Linked DNA regions of Homo sapiens: regions 1 and 2 are each linked to region 3. Evidence: promoter capture Hi-C in 16 types of primary human blood cells and fetal thymus (Javierre and others, 2016). All regions are on one chromosome and are shown on one strand. Each heading gives the region's core, a stretch centred on a gene start or on the middle of the fragment in contact. The rest is flanking DNA. Distances are from core to core; before and after follow the strand shown. Region 1 overlaps CLUAP1 (clusterin associated protein 1). Region 2 overlaps NAA60 (N-alpha-acetyltransferase 60, NatF catalytic subunit). Region 3 holds the start of TIGD7 (tigger transposable element derived 7).

Region 1 (3,403 bases), core at 821-3,320, 200 kb before region 3:
TCTCCCTCTCTCCTGGACAACCAATCCTCACCTTCTGGCTCTCATTTTCAACCCACTAGCAACAACTCTCCCTCTTCATTTGCAGCTGATGGCTTTGATAGCTTGCTTCCCTCTTCCTTAGTCCTCCAGGATCCAGCCTGCTCTGGCTCTAGCTGCTTTTCTTCCCTTCCGAGCAGCACATCCCCAAACTTCTTTGCAGGAGTCTGTCACCTTCTCTGCTTCTCAAAAGTGGAGCGAGTCAGAGTTTCATTCCTGGACCCCCCGTCTTTTCTGCTGGCTCTGCTCCTACCCTCAAGGCTTTAATACCATCTGTGTGCTGATTGCTCCCCAGCTCCCAGCTCCAGCCTGGGCTTTCCCTGGGCTCTAGTTTCACATACCAGCTACCTGTGCACCATCTCCACCTGGACAGCCAATCGGCGTGGCAAATGGAGCATGTGCAGAACCTTCTCTGCTTCAGTACATGGCAACTTCATCCTTCCAGGGGCTCACACAAAAAACTTCAGAGCAGTGATGTCTAATATAGTAACCAATAGCCACATGTGGCCATTTTCACTTAAATTACTTAAGAATTAAAGAAAATGCAGAACTCAACTCAGTTCCTCAGTTGTGCTTGCCACATGTGGCCAGTGGTTCCCGTAGAGTACAGCACAGAGGCGGAACACACCCATGAGCTCTGCAAGCTCTGCCGCACGGCTGCCCCAAGACCCGGCCTGTAGCACCTGACTTACTCTCAACCCATGCCTCATCCCGTGAGATCTACCATCAAAATATGCCCCAATCTCTAGACACTTCTCTTGCTGACGAGTGTCGCTCCTGGTTAAAAACCCACATGTGAGGACAGGCGCGGTGGCTCACGCCTATAATCCCAGCACTACGGGAGGCCGAGGCAGGCAGATCACCTGAGGTCAGGAGTTTGAGACTAGCTGGCCAACATGGTGAAACCCCATCTCTGCTAAAAAAAAAAAAAAAAATACAAAGCCGGGTGCGGTGGCTCACGCCTGTAATCCTAGCACTTTGGGAGGCTGAGGCGGGCAGATCACCTGAGGTCAGGAGTTCGAGACTAGCCTGACCAACATGGAGAAACCCTGACTCTACTACAAGTAAAAAATTAGCTGGGTGTGGTGGCGCATGCCTGTAATCTCAGCTACTCAGGAGGCTGAGGCAGAAGAATCACTTGAACCTGGGAGGCAGAGGTTGCAGTGAGCTGAGATTGTGCCATTGCACTCCAGCCTGGGCAACAAGAGTGAAACTCCATCTCAAAAAAAAAAAAAAAAAATTAGCTGGGCATGGTGGTGTGTACCTGTAATCCCAGCTACTTAGGAGGCTGAGGCAGAAGAATCTCTTGAACCTGGGAGGCAGAGGCGCAGCGAGCCAAGATCGTGCCATTGCACTCCAGCCTGGGCCACAGACTGAAACTCCGTCTCAAAACAAAACAAAAACAAAACAAAAAAGCTGTGTGTGGCTTTTCAAGCCCAACTATAGACCATGACAAGGCCTCACCTAGCAGGCCTCACAGGGGAAGCTTTCTTCCCTGCAGCAGACTTGGAGCTCAGCCAGTGCACTGTGGTTTCACGTACCCTGCGTGGCCACACTCTTAGGTGCACTCCCAGCCCCGGGGCCTTCATTCCTAGGTCTCCTGCTCTGAGGCCTTGGGCCTCAGAGTAACGGCTTAACCTTTATTTCTGGCTTGCTGCTGTGGTCGCTCCCTGACACCTGACGGCACCTGTCCCACCAGCACTCTGCTCAAAGCCACGGTCACCCCTCACTCTCCAAACAGGCTCGCTGCTTCCAGCCCTGCCGCCTGCTTCGGTCTGATGGCGGCTCAGCAGCCAGAGCAACCCTTTGGACGGGAAATAAGCACAGAAGGTTCCGCTTGGATCCCAACGATTCCCACCTTAGAGGCAAAGACAAAGGCTTTCCAGGGGCTTCCCAGGCGCCAGAGGGTCTGTCAATCCCAACCCTCATCACACGGCCTCCTTGCTTTTCCTCAAACACACAAAACACATTTTTTTTCTTCCCCCCAGACAAGGTCTCGTTCTGTTGCCTAGGCGGGAGCGCAGTGCCATGAACATGGCTTGACTGCCTGGGCTCAAGAGATCTTCCCACCTCAGCCTCCTGGGCAGCTGGGACCACAGGTGTGTACCACCACGCCTAGCTAATTTTTTTCTTTTTTTTGGTAAAAATGGCGTCTCACTATGTTGCCCAGGTTGGTCTGGAACTCTTGGCATCAAAGGATCCTCCCACCTCGGCCTCCCAAAGTGTTTGGCTTACAGGAGTGAGTCACTGCACCCAGCCCAAAACAAATTATCATCCTGAGACACCCTGACGCCACCCGCCACCCGCACAACTCACTCTTTCCCTCCCTTGGATCTCTGCTGGAAACACCATCCAATCCATGAGGCCTTCCTGATCACCCGATTTAAGATCACTCTGGGCAGCATCCATCCCCATCCCAGCTTATTATTCTCCACAGCCTGCACTGCATCTGGCCTTCCACACCTCTTATTGTTCACAGTCTGACTCCCCTAACTGAAGAGAATAAACACACGATTTTTGTCCTTTTTGTTCACAACTGTATCCTCAGCGCTTGAATGCTACCTGACAAATACTAAGCTTTTAATAAATAGTTGAATTAGTGGATTGTGACTTTGACTTTATCCAAATGCTGATGAGCACAAAACTGACAAACTGCCCTCAGCTGAGGAGGAAGAAAAGCAGCGGAGCTGTAGCAGACTCCTTCCACTTCAGAGCTCAAGAAATCAACGCTCCATCGCCCACTACAAGGCTTTTGTTGTCCTTACCTTTGAGCCAAGATCAAACTTGAACTTGTTGACATCTTCCTCTACTATTTCAGAGCCCTCCATCCCCTTGGTCTTCATAGCATTATAAAGGACAGATGTGATCTTCAGCAGCTCTTTTACCGCATACCCATCTGCTTGATAAAGCTTCTTAGTGTTGAGTTTTATATGTGCCTTGGTGGCCTATTTTTAGACCAAAAAAAAAAAAAGTTGAAGGCCCTTTCCATGTAATGTCTAAACTAAATCCCATGTAGGTGAGTTGAAAATGCCTCTGCTGACAACTGGGATATAACCTAATAAAAGCAAAGCATTCAAGTGACTCAAACATTGTGAGTGGTTGTATAAACTGGGACAATCTTGATGGAGAGCAATTTGGTAAAAGACATCAAAATTACAAATGCACATATCTTTTGACCCAGCAATCCCAAATCTAAGAACTTATTCTAGGGACACACTCAAACACAAACAAAATGAGATGTACAGGTTATTTGTTACAGCACTGTTCCAAAGAGCAAAGCTTCAGACAACCTAAAAGCCTACCTATATAAATTACATAAATTATGGCAAATCCATGCAAGCAATACCACTCAGGCGTAAACAGAATG
Region 2 (3,481 bases), core at 769-3,268, 140 kb before region 3:
ATTAATGTATGCATGGATCAAAACCCTTTCAGTCAGGAGCCAAATATTTTGCTTCCAAATATTTTGCTTCCAAAGAAATTCTTCTTTAGTTCCTTCTTCTTCTTTTCTCTTTTTTTGAGACGATGTATTAGTCTGTTTTCACACTGCTGATAAAGACATACCTGAGACTGCGCAATTTACAAAAAAAAGAGGTTTAATGGACTTACAGTTCCACGTGGCTGGGGAGGCCTCACAATTACGGTGGAAGGTAAAAGGCATGTCTCACATGGTGGCAGACAAAAGAGGGCTTGTGCAGGGAAACTCCCCTTTTTAAAAACCATTAGATCTCGTGAGACTTATTCACTATCATGAGAACAGCATGGGAAAGACCTGCCCCACGATTCAATTACCTCCTACTGGGTCCCTCCCATAATATATGGGAATTGCAGATGAGATTTGGGTGGGGACACAGCCAAACCATATCAGATGGGGTCTCGCTCTGTCACCCAGGCTGGAGTGCAGTGGTGCGATCTCAGCTCACTGCAACCTCCATTTCCTGAGTTCAAGCAATTCTTCTTCCTTAGCCTCCCGAGTAGCTGGGACTACAGTTGGGCGCCACCATGCCTGGCTAAATTTTTCTTTTTTTTTCTGAGACAGAGTCTTGCTCTGTCGCCCAGTCTGGAGTACAGTGGTGTGATCTCGGCTCACTGCAACTGTCACCTCCCAGGTTCACACCATTCTCCTGCCTCAGCCTCCCAAGTAGCTGGGACTACAGGTGCCCACCACCACGCCCAGCTAATTTTTTGTATTTTTAGTAAAGATGGGGTTTCACCGTGTTAGCCAGGATGGTCTCGATCTCCTGACCTCATGATCCACCTGCCTTGGCCTCCCAAAGTGCTGGGATTACAGACGTGAGCCACCACGCCCAGCACACCCGGCTACATTTTTGTATTTTTTAGTAGAGATGGGGTTTCAACATGTTGGGCAGGCTGGTCTCGAACTCCTGACCTCCAGAGATCTACCCGCCTCACCTCCTAAAGTGCTGGGATTACAGGCGTGAGCCACTGCGCCCAGCCCTTTGGCTCCTTCTTTATGAGTAGATAATGAAAAATAAATTTTTAACAAAAGAAATTCTCCTTTGGTATAAAATGATGCAAGTGTGTAAGACGGATCACCACAGATGATACTGCTTCCTTTGATTAGAACCAAACCAGAGGTGGCACAGGATGACCACCACGTGGCTACACAGACCAATCTCAGAGGGTCAGGGCAGCACACTGGGAGAGTCTCGTTCTCCACTAACATTGTCAGTGTGCCCTGAGACTGGGCTTACCCATCAGACTCACAAGAGACTGATGCTTAAACCAAATCTTGTTTACTTCTTTATAGTTTAAAGAGGCTGGCATACTTGTACTGTATCCCTGTGTACCTAACGTAAGAATATACTCATTTACCCTCCTAGCAAAAAAGTGAAAGCATTTGTTTCACTAGGCGCCTTCTATCATTCAGTACTAAAAATTAAGAGAATATTTAATACTTGACAGGTCAAAAATGGATTTCACTTAAGTAGGCTTCCTCTGACTATGAGGGCATCATTAATAGCAGGACACAGAGCGCTTTGACTCACTCTCTGGAGCTCTTCTCCCAACTCAGGCTGGCTCCGCACTTCCTTCCTCCAGGTACAGCCTTTCTGTATGCTGCAGGGGAGAAAGACACAAGGCCATCACTTCACTCCTGGCCATCCCATCTCTACAACTCATAGGCTAATGAGTGTCAGACAAACCCTGGATCTCAGAGTATCAATCTGATGGGCCCTTTTGGGGAAAAATTAACTATCTAAACATGTAGTTCTCTAAACTACAAAGCAACCCATGTTTTTTTTTTTTTTTTTTTTGAGACAAGGTCTTGCTCTGTCATCCAAGCTGGAGTGCAGTGGCACAATGCTAGCTCACTGCAGCCTCGAACTCCTGGACTCAAGTGATTCTCTTGCTTCAGCCTCTAAAGTAGCTGGAATTATAGGTGTGAGTGACCACGCCCAGCCTCCAACCCATCCTTTCTTCTCTGTCCTCACTGTATCTAACCTGCATTCTCTGTACCTCTTACTACCCTCCAGGAGTCTTTGGTTGCAGCTTCTAGTAACGATAATTATTCAGTATGAGTAGGTCAAGAATCTTTCTCTGGAAGCACCTCTGCCTCAGTGACTGAAAAAGAATTCTGTTGGGAGTTAACACAGACCAAGCCAGTTTTTGGTAACAGAATTAACATGTTGAAGGTACGTTTAGAGCCCTGAGCTTTTTTCTAATTAAAAGACTCCTATTAGTTTCAACTCAAGGCTAAATGAAACTAAAAAGACTCCTATCCAGCTAGAAGTTGTGCTAATTTCAAAACTGTGTGAGCCTCTTGTTCTTGCAGGCATGACTTGCAGCCATTGTCCCCTTATAAGACTGGAGACTAGGTAGCAACAGTTTTCTAACTGCTCAATCAAGCATTCTGAACACCAGTAAGAAAACCTCTTGCTGAAGTTGGGAGAAAGATAATCTTGCTTACCTAGGCCCCCTTAGTGTAGGTGAGAAGGCTCTGTGTCAGTTTCCGATCAGTATCAACTTCCCATGAAGGATACGGTAAAGGCGGTAAGAACCAGAGCCATACTTATGTTTAAGTAATAGACCTTAAAAGGCAGTACCATCTGGGAATGGAAAACACACCAAACGTAGTGAGCAATTCATTCTGGAAATCATGTTAAACATCGCCAGGGAAGATACCCCATTTACCTTGAAGTGATTACACATTGCATGCCTGCATCAAAATATTTCATGTACCACATAAATATATACACCTACTATGTACCCATAAAAATTAAAAATATAACTACCACTACCATTTTAACGCATAGTCTTCAAAAGCAACTTTGTTATTGTTTTTGTTTCATAACCAATTTTACTCCCAAAAATGAGTATCTTTCCGTTTCAATATACAGCTGCATCATCATAAAAATCACTAGGGAAAAGATATATACTTAAGAATAGGGGCCGGGGGCAGGGGCTCACGCCTGTAATCCCAGCACTTTGGGAGGCCAAGGCGGGCAGATCACAAGGTCAGGAGTTCGAGACCAGCCTGGCCAATATGGGGAAAACCCGTCCTCTACTAAAAATACAAAAATTCGCCAGGTGTGGTGGTACGCACCTATAGTCCCAGCTACTCGGGAGGCTGAGCCAGAAGAATTGCTTGAACCTGGGAGATGGAGGTTGCAGTGAGCAGGCCAGGTGCGGTGGCTCATACCTGTAATCCCAGCACTTTGGGAGGCTGACATGGGCGGATCACTTGAGGCCAGGAGTTTGAGACCAGCCTGGCCAACATGGCAAAACTGCATCTCTACTAAAAATACAAAAATTAAATGGTTGTGGTGGCATCTGCCCATCATCTCATCTACTCTGGTAGCTGAGGCACAAGAATCACTTGAACCCAGGAGGCGGAAGTTGCAGTGAGCAGAGATCGCACCACT
Region 3 (3,584 bases), core at 364-2,863:
GAGGTGAAGGCTGCAGTGAGCTCAGACTGTGCCACGGCACTCCAGCCAGGGCAGCAAAACGAGATTCCATCTCCAAAAAAAAAAAAAAAAGTTATTTAAAACTTATGAACTGTTTATTTCTGGAGTTTTCCATTTAATATTTTTTGGATGGCAGTTGACAGCGGGTAAGTGAAACCCAGATACAGTGGGGGGAGGGGGTACTACAGAAAGTAAAAAAGTAGCCTATTTTCAGACAATGTCTCCCAAGTAAGCAACAAGATGCTCATCATTCTTTGCAACACACATAAAGGGTGCCATGCAGATGATTTATACGAATTTTGTTTTTTTTTTTGAGATGGAGTCTCGCCCTGTCACCCAGGCTGGAGTGCAGTGGCGTGATCTCAGCTCACTGCAACTTCCACCTCCCCGGTTGAAGCCATTCTCCTGCCTCAGCCTCCCGACTAGCTGGGATTACAGGCGCGTGCCACCATGCCCGGCTAATTTTTGTGTTTTTAGTAGAGACAGGGTTTCACCATCTTGGCCAGGGTGGTCTCGATCTCCTGACCTCGTGATCCACCCATCTTGGCCTCCCAAAGTGCTGGGATTACAGGCGTCAAACACCGCGCCAGGCCTATATGAATTTTTAACTGTGCTTACTTGATCTGGAGAAAATTACAGCTGACCTCTGTTTACAAAATATCAACTTGTAAAAAAGGATATTTTATTTACAAAATATCAAGTCGTATTTTCTTTCTGTCGCTGATGTTTATGAAATATCAACTCCAACAGGAGTTGGTGACGATGAAAGTGAAACTTTCTGCTGACTTTGTATTTCTCCAAAGGTCATTTAGACTTCTAAGGGGGGCTGAGGAGAGCCGTGAGCCTCACTTTTCCTGAAGTGAGCCAGCAGAAACGGCACCGAAATTCTGCCCAGGATGCCACCGGTATTCAAAGAAGTGGCCAGCTCCTTGCTGCCCACCCCGGTTCCAGAAGCAAAGAGACACTTCCTATGTTTTTGCATCAGTAGAAGCTGCTAGCCCTGAGGCTCAACCGACCGCATGACATCGGCCGGACACGGAAATGCCGGCGGAGGCGGGAAAGAGTCTGCGGGCGCAGCTGCAGGCACTGCTGCCCGCCAGCACTCGGATTCGCCACAGCCTGTGTCTGCGACAGGCGTGCCCGTGGGCACTGGGCAAGCGGGCAGTGTCCCAGCGAGCTTCAGCCGCGCCTCTGGGATACAGCTGCGAAAAGCGGGGAGAGAATGGTTTCTCGTGCCCGACGGTGGCCCCGCCTCAGGCTCCAGCCGCGCGGCCCGGAAGCGCCGCGGCCACCGCCTACGGAAAATGGCTGCCTCCCTGCGGCCGCCGCCGCTCCAGCGGCTCCAGGGTCGAAGCCATAGGGGAAGCCGCTTCTCGGTTACCTCGGCCAGCTTGGCTTCCGTGGAGGCCGCTCCTCGCTTTCTGAGGCTCAAACGCAAGCCACCGCCCGAAAGGCCGCCGATCTGAGGAGCGCAACCGCCAGCCCACCGCTGGCCTACCGCAGCCCTGTCCAGGTACAGAGCCAGAGCGCCGGCCGGAAGTGGAAGTGACGCTTTCCGAGGGTGGCGCAGGCCCGCCCTCTGGCTAAGGCGCCTGAGCCCGGCCTACTTCCTCGCCAGAGAAACTGCTGTCTTCCCCGGCGGTAGGGAAGGGTTAATGCCACCGAGTATCCAGACCCGCTGAAGCCTAGAGGGCCTTGTACCGGCTCACCGCGTGGCTGTCGCTGTCTCGTGTCCCCAGTGGGGGAGGCGTCGCACTGCCGCGTCTGTTCTGCGTGGCTGTCGGGCGGCGTTTGGTCCCGGGAGCCTCGCCGGGTAAGGGTCGCCTCCCAGCTGCGCGCGCCGCGTTCTCGGGCTTCCCGCGGCCCGGCCGGCCGTGCTCGAGCTGTTGCTGGGCTCGTCGCCGCCTCCTCGAGGAAGAGGCATTTTGTCCGGGTCGGGCCACTCGCTAGGTCAGAAACAGCGGCCCCCCGAGGGTTTTGTACCGTTTTCTAGGTCTCGTGACGCATTCCCCACAACTATTTTTTCTTGAGGTAGGTTTGAACCTGTGAAATAGGTTCTTTTTCTATCTCTCCTTGACAGAGAAACGGAGACCTAAGAAGTGACTTGCTCAGGGTCACATAGCTCAGCAGTGGCGGCCGCTAATCGGAAATAGCTCTCCTGTTGTGGTATCCTCTGCGTTTTCCACTCCAGTATTCTTCCCTGGAAAATGGGAACCTTGTTTTCATCTTATATCTCATGCAGCGCCTAACATAGTCACCTGGTAAGATAGGCATTCCACACATATTTACTGAATCATAGTTATAAGAATCTGAGTGTTTTGGGTGTTCAGTGATCTCTGAATTAATCCGTTTTTGTAATGTCAGTCTGTACCAGTTGAGGGATTATTTAATAAGTCCAGTATGAGTGGTTTCGGAATTACCAGTTTTTGTAACGTCAGCTTATACCAGTCAAGGGACTATTTATTAAGTCAGCTATGTGTAGCCAATATTGCAGAGTTGAGTAAGAAGTCTTTGTCCTTAAGCAATCTCTTGAAAGGACTGAGCAATTTCGTGAATATCAGTAACACAAGGGTAAGAATAGGACATAAACTGAATGCTGTGAGAACTCCAAGAAAATCCAAGTTGATTTGGGGTTGGGGGAAATTATAAAAGACCTTGAGGGATTTTGTCCACAGCAGGGAATGGAGACACTTTCCAGGCAGAGGGAAGGGTAGGAGTAAAGGCTTTAAAAGCTGGAAACATTAGACTGTGAGATCTTAGGTACGTTTTTACTGAGTTGGGCTGCATTTAGAGGAAGAGTTTTAAAAGTTAGAAAACGAGTTTATGTGGCACTTATACTGGAGTCCTTTGAATGGGAATGAAAAGAGTGCATTTAAGAAAGTAAATCCTGGCCGGGCGCGGTGGCTTACGCCTGTAATCCCAGCACTTTGGGAGGCCGAGGCGGGCGGATCATGAGGTCAGGAGATCGAGACCATCCTGGCTAACATGGTGAAACCCCGTCTCTACTAAAAAATACAAAAAAAAATTAGCCGGGCGTGGTGGTGGGCGCCTGTAGTCCCAGCTACTCGGGAGGCTGAGGCAGGAGAATGGCGTGAACCCGGGAGGCGGAGCTTGCAGTGAGCCGAGTTCACGCCACTGCATTCCAGCCTGGGCGACAGAGCGAGACTCCGTCGCAAAAAACAAAACAAAACAATACAAAAAAGTAAATCCTGGAGCACCATTTGAGCGTTTTGGACTGAGCTGCTTTCTATGGCAGTTCATCTAAGGTAAGTTTAAGGTGAGAATGAAGATGAGAGGCCATTACCAGGCCATTATGCTATTTTTGCTTTTGGATGGGATGGTATGTAACTCCTCTTAGGCATAGATCTTGATCCTTTTTAAGTGAGAGAGAAAGATAAACAGATTTAATAATGAGCATCTGCCTAAGTCACTTGAATTTGTGTCTAAGTAGGTTCATTTCCTTAAAATCTCAGCCAGGTTGGGACTTCATTTCTTCAGCAGTAAATATTCTCAGTCTATCAGAACCAGTGGACAGTAGCGCCATCAGCATTAAGATTCTCATCACC

What was found. The method cuts DNA at HindIII sites, captures the fragments that hold promoters and counts their contacts. A CHiCAGO score of 5 or more calls a contact.
Region 1: a contact is called between a fragment that was not itself captured here and the fragment with the promoter of TIGD7 in region 3, in 1 of 17 cell types (naive CD8 T cells). The highest score is 5.3, in naive CD8 T cells.
Region 2: a fragment that was not itself captured here is called in contact with the fragment with the promoter of TIGD7 in region 3 in 11 of 17 cell types (erythroblasts, naive CD8 T cells, naive CD4 T cells and 8 more); the score reaches 9.0 in erythroblasts.

Annotation. Positions count from the first base shown.
Region 1 is chr16:3,507,867-3,511,269 of GRCh38, reverse strand. It overlaps CLUAP1 (clusterin associated protein 1), which reads right to left. Exons shown (of 12, transcript NM_015041.3): 4 at 2,802-2,981. Among named protein-coding and RNA genes, the nearest start is that of CLUAP1, 8.6 kb to the right of the region's middle. RefSeq lists an enhancer at 1,296-1,355. The HindIII fragment of the contact is 1,091 bases long and covers 1,525-2,615 here.
Region 2 is chr16:3,446,666-3,450,146 of GRCh38, reverse strand. It overlaps NAA60 (N-alpha-acetyltransferase 60, NatF catalytic subunit), which reads right to left. Exons shown (of 8, transcript NM_001083601.3): 2 at 1,607-1,676. Among named protein-coding and RNA genes, the nearest start is that of NAA60, 4.7 kb to the right of the region's middle. The HindIII fragment of the contact is 4,492 bases long and covers 1-3,481 here.
Region 3 is chr16:3,303,459-3,307,042 of GRCh38, reverse strand. It overlaps TIGD7 (tigger transposable element derived 7), which reads left to right and starts at 1,613. Exons shown (of 2, transcript NM_033208.4): 1 at 1,613-1,831. It overlaps ZNF75A (zinc finger protein 75A), which reads right to left and starts at 1,546. Exons shown (of 7, transcript NM_001302109.2): 1 at 1,400-1,546. RefSeq lists an enhancer at 1,523-2,052. The HindIII fragment of the contact is 19,814 bases long and covers 1-3,584 here.